Regions from separate parts of the Homo sapiens genome. Here all the other regions are linked to region 2. The links are contacts of gene promoters, found by promoter capture Hi-C in human tissues and cell types (Jung and others, 2019). All regions are on one chromosome and are shown on one strand. The core of a region is centred on a gene start or on the middle of the fragment in contact, and the rest is flanking DNA. Distances in the headings are between cores, read along the strand shown. Region 1 overlaps KSR1 (kinase suppressor of ras 1). Region 2 holds the start of LGALS9 (galectin 9). Region 3 has its middle 69 kb from the start of NOS2.

What was found. The method cuts DNA at HindIII sites, captures the fragments that hold promoters and counts their contacts. A contact is called where the count stands out against the background at its distance.
Region 1: a contact is called between a fragment that was not itself captured here and the fragment with the promoter of LGALS9 in region 2, in 2 of the 25 tissues and cell types used here (spleen and thymus).
Region 3: a fragment that was not itself captured here is called in contact with the fragment with the promoter of LGALS9 in region 2 in 2 of the 25 tissues and cell types used here (spleen and thymus).

What each region holds. Positions count from the first base shown.
Region 1 is chr17:27,520,102-27,523,254 of GRCh38, reverse strand. The region is part of intron 1 of KSR1 (kinase suppressor of ras 1); the gene reads right to left. Among named protein-coding and RNA genes, the nearest start is that of KSR1, 65 kb to the right of the region's middle. RefSeq lists an enhancer at 3,107-3,153. The HindIII fragment of the contact is 4,326 bases long and covers 1-3,153 here.
Region 2 is chr17:27,629,794-27,633,061 of GRCh38, reverse strand. It overlaps LGALS9 (galectin 9), which reads right to left and starts at 1,874. Exons shown (of 11, transcript NM_009587.3): 1 at 1,758-1,874. The coding sequence starts at 1,796. RefSeq lists enhancers at 1,845-1,964, 1,432-2,249. The HindIII fragment of the contact is 14,549 bases long and covers 1-3,268 here.
Region 3 is chr17:27,729,504-27,733,058 of GRCh38, reverse strand. No RefSeq gene overlaps it. Among named protein-coding and RNA genes, the nearest start is that of NOS2, 69 kb to the left of the region's middle. The HindIII fragment of the contact is 5,964 bases long and covers 1-3,555 here.

The DNA.
Region 1 (3,153 bases), core at 267-2,766, 110 kb after region 2:
CATTTATTGATATATTTCCTGGCTAATAGGCTTTTAGTTTCCTTCTAGTTTTTCATCATCACCAAAAATGTTACAATGTACATCTATTTCTCCTTGAGCACTTGCATGCTAGTTTTTCCAGTACAGACAATAGAAGTAAAATTTTTGGCTATAGGGTATGTGTATCCCTAACTTCACCACATCTAGTCAAGTTCTCTTGAGAGTAGTTGTACCAATTTACACTCCCCAGGGCCCTGTGTGAGAGAGGAGGCCCCTCCCCATGCTGTATTTCTAAACTGCCAATTTCTACCTAACATGATGGTAGCAGGATCCTTTTTTTCTTTCTTAGTACCCTGAACTAGCTACAGCAGAAACACAGGAATCCCCTGAGCTACTCTCCCCAAAATGTTGTCTGGCTGCTGCCTGAGGACAGACCACCCTGCAAAAAGCAACCTAGCTGGGCAGCCAGCATTCAGAGTGGTGCACCCATTGCTTTCTATCTATGGTGTCTCCTCTTGCAAGACAGAGACTTTCCCTCATTGCAAACTTGCTGGGGGGTTGGTGGATTAGTCCTTTGCATTCACCACCCCTCAAATTATTTCATATCCAGCCTACTCACTCAAGCCCTCTCCAATACCAACCAGAAAAGGACAATGTGAAGGTGTTTGTCCCACCACAAAGCCCTCCCACTTTTCCCTGGAGCTCTCAGGCAGGCTGCTGAAAAGAACATCTCATCTCTGCTGGAAAGAAACACCTCATCTCTGGTGGTGGCTCATGAGCATCTCCTGATAAAGGAAAATCCCAGGCAGAGAGAGGGGCCAAGTTGTTTATTTCCAAACACAAGCCAGATTCCAGCTGTGACATGTATACTGGATCTGCTCACTGCAAAGGCGAGCTGGGCGGGAGGGCCACGGGGAGCGGGGGCCAAAGCTGTGTGGAGGATTGCGTGGTTGTTTAGTTTCAAGTAAGCCAGTATTCCTAGGATCAAGTTCATAGCCCCTTCTCAGTCCTGTTTTTCCTGACTCTGCCTGTCTATGGATTTTTCATGTCAACTTGCCCCAAGTGCAAAGGGTAGTTGCCTTGACCCACTTAACCCAGGGGCTCAGAGAGACACTCCACCGGGCTCAAGGCTGGGGTCTGGTATCCACCTTTCCACTCCACAACATTTATTGAAAGCTTGCTCTGGCCAGGTACCAGTGTATAAGAATGGCTGTAACAAAAACCCAGCCATTATCCAGAACTTGACCTCTGAGAACTCATGGCCTAGAAAATAAATACTTGTGATGTCATGTGAAAAGATGCAATGGTAAATATGTGCAAGAGAAAGGAAAGAACAGAGAAAGTAAACCTAACTAAGCCTGGTCTCCCTAGCAGCATGGGTGATAAGCAGACATTTTTATCATCAACATCATAATTCCAACTGCCTGCCTTTCCCATAGCCATGAGAGTGTGGATTAACAGGGCAACAGGTGGTGCTTTGGGAGCTCAGACGTCAGGAGACCTGGTTCTAACCCACCTGCCTCCATCAGAGTAGCCTTTGCAGGCCAGGCGTGGTGGCTCACACCTGCAATCCCCACGCTTTGAGAGCCTAAGGCAGGTGGATCACTTGAGCCTAGGGAGTTTGAGACCAGCCTGGGCAACACAGTGAGACCCTATCTCTACAAAAAAATTCAAAAACTAGCCAGGCGTGGTGGCTCATGTCTGTGATCCTAGCTACTCAAGAGGCTGAGGCAAGAGGCTTGCCTGAGCCCGGGAAGTCAGGGCTCCAGTGAGCTACTGCACTCCAACGTGGGCAATGGAGCTAGACCCTGTGATCCTAGCTACTCAAGAGGCTGAGGCAAGAGGCTTGCCTGAGCCCAGGAAGTCGGGGCTCCAGTGAGCTACTGCACTCCAACCTGGGCAATGGAGCTAGACCCTGTTTCAAAAAAAAAAAAAAAAAAAGGAATGGCCTTTGTCAACTCACTGTCCTCATGGGTAAACTGAAGGGTGGAACAAGCAACTCCTGAGCAGTCCTTTCAGCTTGGGTATCCTAACCAGGGGCTTTCCACCCTCCCTGTGTATCAGAATCACTTGGAGCGGGTATACATATAGAGATGCCTGGGCCAGTTCCCACCCCAGAGGTACTAAGTCAGCTGGCCCAGGGCTGTGCTCCTGATATGGATGTGTTTTAAAAGCACCCATGATTCAAACATGAGGACAGGGTTCAGAACCACGGTGCTGAACAAACTTCCTGCTGGTGACAGCCACAAGTGCTTGAGGACCGGGCCCCATTCCACAGACTGCCCAAGGCAGGAAGCGAACCCAAGGCCAAACAGCCCATAGTGCCTGCTGTCTGCTCACAGGGATACAATGATTTCAGGAAGATTCCAGTTAGGCCAACTGGCAAACAGGGAATCACACGTCTCCCGCATCCTCCAGCTACCTGCTTTCAGCCCCTTTTGGCCACTGGGACAAATGGGTAAGGGGGAAGGCAGCACCCCTCCAATCCACTGGCAGGGGGCCGCCCCACCCTCGGGAAAAGGAGGCCAGTGAGAGTTGGAGGCAGCGGGGCCTGGGAAACCTGGGCGGGCACAGCCTGGCCTCCCTGCCTGTGAGCCAGCCCCTGAGAGGCCTCGTCCGGACAAAGGGGCAGAAGAACAAAGCTCCACTGTGCCCGTTCTGCACGGAAAAGCCAGCAGAGACAAGGAGACTTCAGGGCTGGTGGCACGATTAGCATTTTATTTATTTATTTAATTTTCGTTTTATCTAACAAATGCCTTGGGGACACAACACTTATTATGCGCACCAAGCAGAGTTTCTGAGCCCTTTCTAAAGATTAAGCTTTAGAAGATTAAGCTTTCCAGAGTTAAAGTCCAGGGAGGGGAAAAAATTAATTCTCCCCCTCCACAGGCACATAAATTTACCTTTGCATTTGCTACTGTCTGGCCTATAACATACAGAAACCACTTGGATCTAGGAATGTGTCCCAAGGTGTGACTTAAATCCCTTCGGTGCCCTTTATAGAAGGCCATCTTCTGCAGGAATGGAAATTTTCTCATGGCAAGGTGGAAAGAATTTGGAAGTTAAACTCCATTTGCTACATGAACTTGGACAAGTTTCAGAAACTCTCCGAAACTCATTTTGGTGTCTGTCAAATGGGAACAGTGTAGCCTATTTCAGAGGTGTTATGGAGTG
Region 2 (3,268 bases), core at 625-3,124:
GGACCACACAGCACGTGGTTCCAGCTTCCCCCAGGCCCTCCAAAGAGGCTGGGCTAGATGAGGCCAGACAAGAAGTGGGAGTGAGGTTTCCAAGCCAGGCCCTCATGGCACTCAGCCCTCCTCAGCAGGACAGCGAACCGCGTGACCTTCCCCCACTGTCGGCATGTGGAGGAAGCGTGGCTCCGACTGCCAGATGGGTCACCAAGTGAGGCTTAATTGTCCCAACCCAGGGGAGCCCCCGTGGGGTAGAGGGGTACTCTGGACACCCATAGGGGCTGCACTGATCATCTTTCTTGTCTGGACTCCAAGGCCCTGTTTTAACTCTCTGATGTCCGTAGGATAATTTTCCTTCTGAATCCAAGGATTAGAAAGTAAAAACCAGTCACCAGAATAATAATATGTCAGAACCTGGAAGAAGCTCTGGGATCCCCTCTTTGACAGAAAACCAGAGACAGGGTGACATGCCCAAGGCAGCACCTGCTGACCCTAAGGCCCCCACCAGCGGCCTGTTCCAGCTTCCCCCAGCCCCCTCTGTGCAGGTCCTACCTCAGGGGCCTCCACAGGGTGGCTGAGGTGTCATTGGTGACAGCCAGGAGGAAACAGGCCTCCTTTCCCCATTCTTTCTCTCTGGAGTTTAGAAAGCAGAGCCGAGCTCTGCAGACCAGAACGTAGGCAGCCTCATTCTGGACTCAGTGTCACCAGGGGGCACTCAAGCCCGACCCTGGCCTCTGCTGAGGTGGGCCATGGCAGCTTCCCTCCCTCAGTACCCTGCCTCTGCCCACCCTCCCCACCCTGCCTCCCCACCCAGGAAGGACCCATCAGCCCACCCTCTCCAGCCCCTCGGGAAGCTCTTTGCCAAGGCGGGGTGAGATCCTATGACAGGAGCCGGCCCAGGACACAGTGACCCCTGAAGTCTCCTGGGCTCCTGGGGCTGCCACTCCCATCTGGAGGCATTTGGCAACTGGCCTCTGCCTCCCTGAGCCTCAGATTTTCCGTGTATGAAGGGGACTCATAAACCTCACAGGGTTTCAGCAAGGCACCTGCCGCCCTCTGACCCCACGCTGCAGGGACAGTCCTCACCCCCCTCTCACCTCTGAGACTGCCCCTCCACAGATGCCCTGAACATGCCCATGCCCAACCTTCAGAGCACAGACACCTCCTCGGGAGGTCTTCCCTGCTGCCCTCAGACACCCAATAACATGAAACACTCCCAAAGCACCTACAGTGTGTCAGGCACTGTTCAAACACACTAGATACACTACTTCCTTAATCCATATCCCAACCCTGGGAGTGGGGGGCTCAAGTATTATTCCCACTTCACAGATATGGAAACTGAGGCCCAGAGACCACCAGCCAGTAAATAGCTGGACCCAGGGAGGCCACCTTCACAGTAAGCACCCTTAACTACCATGCCGGGTAGCGTCCTTACTGTCCCAGAAGCGTGCTTGCTTCCTCTTTACATGAACCACCCCGCTCTACATGTCTTCCCCTGAGCACACAGGACAGGACAGGACAGGACAGCTCAGTCAACACTGTCAAAGCCATGACTCGTGGGAAGGAGCATCCCTCCAGGCATGAGTGAGCTCAGCACGGCACAGGTGTGCCAGGATGACCTCCTCTGATATTTCTGCCCTGCTTGTGTTCTCTTTGGGATGCCCCCACCCCCATCCCCTGCCACCCAGGAGTTGCTTCCTCAGAGCCCCAGAGCTGTGTCCCTCTGGCTGAGGCAGCCCTGTGCCCATAGCCCTGGAACTCACTGGACTCAGGTAGGGAGCCTGGGAACCGCTGAAGGCCATCTCTCCGCCGCCTCTGTGGCCACCGCTGCCTTTCACACCCACTAGGAAGTCCTTTGTAGAGGGAACGACTTAACAAAGAAATAGAAACCAAAGCAACTTGGCTGTTATTCAATGGGGAGGAGCCGGCAGCAAAAGGAAGTGGGTCCAGAGAGAGAAAGGTATGGTACTGGGTGGACTGGGGTGACACTCACAGAGGGAAGTAGGCACTCCCAGCCCCAGTGACCTTTCCCTCCTCCCTCTCCTGTGCTCAACCCAAGCCTGAAGCATATTTGGTTCATAGAGGTCTACAATGCTTGACCACACTGACATGACAGCAAGTTGCCAGATGACACTGCCCAGAAGTATGTGGCTGTGTGTCCTAAGCATGCTTGGCCACGGAGTCCAGAAAATAATGGGGCTGGGCATTGCCTGTGCACAGGGTGCTTGTGGGGAAGGGCGGCTTCAACCCATTTTACATACAGAGAAGCTGAGGCTCAGAGTCTAAGGGGCATGCCCCAGGTCACACAGCTAATTCGTGGCCGCCTGAACTTTATGAAGATTCTCAGACTCTTCAAAAAGTATTTCTCCTGTTTAAATTTATATTATTCATGTAAAAACATAATTATGTAGAGGGGAATATTTTGCAAGAAAAACACCATAATGAATATTTTTATTCTACAGTATGGGGTGCCCAGGAGCTTCTGATCCTCCCTCTCAATGAATCTCTCTTGATTCTCTTCTCCTTCTCTTCTCCATCCTTATTTTCTGCACTTTAGGATGAGGAGAGAAGTCTTGGACATGATAGAACATTTCAAGTGACATGGGGCTGGGAAGGAACATATGGCATGTGCAGGTCGTGGGGGAGGGAGCCATGAAATAAACTTACCTGAAGTCGACCAGGTCCCAGCGATGTGCTGGTGAGAAGGCCCAGAACTCAAGCTGGGTAGGGTAAGTGCTGGCAGGTAAGGGCTGTACGGGTGCGAGAGGATGGCAGGTGCCCCAGGGCCATACGTGAGTCTGCACCTCTCTTCCTTCCTGTGCTCCACCTAGATGCACTAGAATTTGCAGACTAATTCCTTTGAGATGCTCCAATAGACTGAGGCCATGTGTGCCATCTGCACTGTCCATCCCCATTATGTTCCTGGATCAAGTACCAGTTTAAGGAGTAGACAGTACAAGGGGAGCAGAAAGGAGAGAAAGGAAGGGAAATTCTTTGCGATCCTCTCGGACACCAGGGACAATTTCATCACGGCACATCATTTGTAGGCAATCACAAATTGATTGCGATACGCAACAACTGGAACTCTCATTCACAGCAGACTGGAGTGTAAAATAATCCAACTTAGAAAAATGGGCAGGGCGTGGTGGCTTATGCCTATAATACCAGCACTTTGAGAGGCTGAGGCAGGAGGATCACTTCAGCCCAGGAGCTTGAGACCAGCTCGGGAAAGGTTGGAAGACCCTGTCCCTACATATAATTTAACAAACAAATT
Region 3 (3,555 bases), core at 136-2,635, 100 kb before region 2:
GGAATACATATATACTGTTTTAGTGCTAAGAGCTTTTTATTTTACAGAGAACATTTGGAAAATACAGGAAAACAAAGATGAAAGGAGAAACCAGCTGTAATCTCTCTTCCATTAACATTGATGTGGTGGCATATTTCCTTTCAGTCTGGGTAGATGAAGGAATATCTTTATTTGCTTTGTTCATGGGTTGTTTAGCACAAACATTTTCATAATCACAGCAAGTTACTGGGAGACAGAAAGTGAAGCAACTGACAGACTCAGATTCCTACTCAGTTCAAGGAAAGAATAAAAAAAAAGGCTAAGCCATTAGCAGTGAGATACTGGAAAATCACTTTTTACTTTTTTAAAAACAAAAATAATTATTTTTGGAACAGTTTTAGTCACATAGAAATATTCAGTAGAAGGTACACACTGTATACCCCTTCTCCTTCACCTGTGATTACCTCTTGCCTTAGTGTGGCACATGTGTTACAACTGATCACCCAGTACCCATAAATTACTAACTAAATGCCATGCTTTAGAGTTGACTCTTTGCATTGCACGATGGTGGGGGTTTTGTCATGGATCCATCCTTGCAGTATCATACAGAAGAGTTTTACTGCCCTAAGTAGCCTGTGATTCACCTATTCGTTTTTCCTCCCTTTCCCATCCTCAACCCAAGAATTGCTGATCTTTTTTCTGTCTCTATAGTTTTTTCTTTTCCAGAATGTCATATAGTTAAAATTATACAACATGTAGCCTTCATAGACTGGCTGCTTTTATGCATTTAAAGTGTCCCCACATCTTTTCTGGGCTTGATAGCTTATTTCTTAGTATGGCTGAATAATATTCCACTGCATGGATGTACCACCATTTGTTTATCCATTCACTTATTTAAGGACATCTTGATTGCTTCCAACTTTTGGCAATTATGAATGAAGCTTCTGTAAAGTGTTAATATACAGGTTTTTGTGTAGACATAAGTTTTCAACTCATTTAGGAAAATCACTAGGAGCATGACTGCTAGAATGTATGGTAAGACCATATTTAGTTTTTTTGTTTGTTTGTTTTGTTTTGTTTTGTTTTCTTGAGATGGAGTCTCACCCTGTCACCCAGGCTGGTGTATAGTGGTGTAATCTTGGCTCACTGAAACCTCCACCTCCAGGGTTCAAACATTTCTCCTGCCTCAGCCTCCTGCGTAGCTGGGATTACAGGTGCTGGCCACCATGCCCAGCTAATTTATGTATTTTTAGTAGAGATGAGTTTCACCATGTTGGCCAGGCTGGTCTTGAACTCCTGACCTTGTGATCTGCCCACCTTGGCCTCCCAAAGTGTTGGGATTACAGGTGTGAGCCACCGTGCCCACCTGTCTGTTCATTCTTAACAGTGTCACTGGCACAGCAGACATGTTTTACTTTAATGAAGTCAATCTTGTCCATTTTCTCTTTTGTAGATGGTGTTTTTGTGTTGTATCTAAAATCTCATTGCCAAACCCAAGGTCACCTAGATTTTCCCCTATGTTATTAAACTCCTAGAAATTTTCTAGTTTTTTGTTTTTCATTTAAGTCTATGACCTGTTTTGAGTTAATTATTGGGAAAGGTGTAAGGTCAGTGTCTATATTCATTATTCCACATGTGGTTGTCTAGTTGTTCCAGCACCATTTGTTGAAAAGACAATTTTTTCTCCATTAAATTGCCTTTGCTCCTCTGCCAAAGATCAGCTGACTCTATTTGTATAGGTCTATTTCTGGGGTGCCTATTCTGTTCCATTGATCTATTTACCTGGTCTTTCACCAATACTTCACTGTCTTAATACATACAGAAGACAATATACACAAAATAGGAAGTCAACTATAAATGAGAAAAAAGTTCTTTATTTTTCTCCCCAAAGTATTTTAACCAAACATTTTGGTGTAAAAAATAAAAATGTCAACAAATGTGCTCAACTATAACAGAAAAAGAAAGCTTACAAGAGAATGTAGAGCTCAGAGTTACTACTTACTGTTCATTAGATAAATGGTTTAAATGGTTTAAATCCTGAAAAACTGCTTGAATCTTAAATAATCTATGAAATATTATGGAAGCATTTTCTAACTTGTTTCTGAAACCTCTGGAAAAAAACTCCTCATGTATTAATACAAGCTAAACTTCTTTAGAGAAATAAAAAGAAAACTATACATTTCATGACATGTATACATTTTTCTTTCACATACTTGTAACTCAAAAAACCATGCTTTCACAAATATAATAATAGAAATACAATAATATTAGCAATCATAACATCCATGAAACTGTAAAGAATAAACTGGCCAGATGCTGTCTCTTACACCTGAGAACCCAGGTTCTGGTCAAGGCTTCTCTTGGTTGTATGAACTCACCTCATGGACCTGTCATAAGGCTCAAAAGAGATACTGTAAACAAAAGCATCCTGTAAACTGTAAAAGCCTATAGATACGTGGTTCATCTAAATCCAGGCAGTTTAACGACTGATAGCTGCCCCCGCAGAACCTCCTTTCTCGATTCTTAAACAAATTATATTTCCAAGTCCAGTTCAAAAGTTATATTCTTGGAAATCTCCACATCCCACCTGTCCACCAAGGCAGAACAAATCCATCTACTACACTCTAGTATTATGCTCTCATAACTCTTGGCTCTTTACCAGTTCATTTAAAGGTATAATGAGCATTTAAAAATATGTCAGGCATCATGCTATCCACTGGAGAAAAGAATCTTAAATGTGTAAGGCTTACAAAGTTTTTTTCACATACATTATCTCATTTCATACTTTAAAAATATCCCATAGGATCATAATTATTTGTTTATAATTTCTCTAACCAGAATGAATTCCCAGTGGTTAGAGACTAAGTGTGATTCATCTTTGACTCCCCAGAGTCTAGTGCAGTGCCTAGCACACAGAAGACACTCATTAAGTGCTTGATAAATTAATGAATAAAGGAGTAACAGACACTTGTTTGATTAGTAAAATATCAGTCAGGGTTAACACTGAAATAATCTTTCCATAAAGTTTTCACAGGGGAAAGGGGAAAAATACATTCTATTATACAAACACATCAGGGGAGTGAAAATTCTTCCATATAGCAGAGCATCCTCAACTCAAGTTTCTGTTTAACAAAGCCACGTAGCAACTGAAAATGGATTTGATTTCACTCTGGACTAACAAGCTCTAAGTGAAGAACAATGAGTTTTGCATAAAAGCTCCTATGTAAAACATTCTGCTTGGTAAAACTGGACATTATTACACAAATATTAAAACAAACAAACTAAAGTGCTTCTGCACAGCCAAAGAAACTATCATCAGGGTGAACAGGCAACCTACAGAATGGGAGAAAATTTTTGCAATTTATCCATCTGACAAAGGTCTAATATCCAGAATCTACAAGGAACTTAAACAAATTTACAAGAAAAAAAAACCATCAAAAATTGGGCAAAGGATATGAACAGACACTTCTCAAAAGAAGACATTTATGTGGCAAACAAACATGAAAAAAAGCTCATCATAACTGGTCATTAGAGGAATGCAAATCAAAACCACAATGAGATTCCATCTCATGCCAG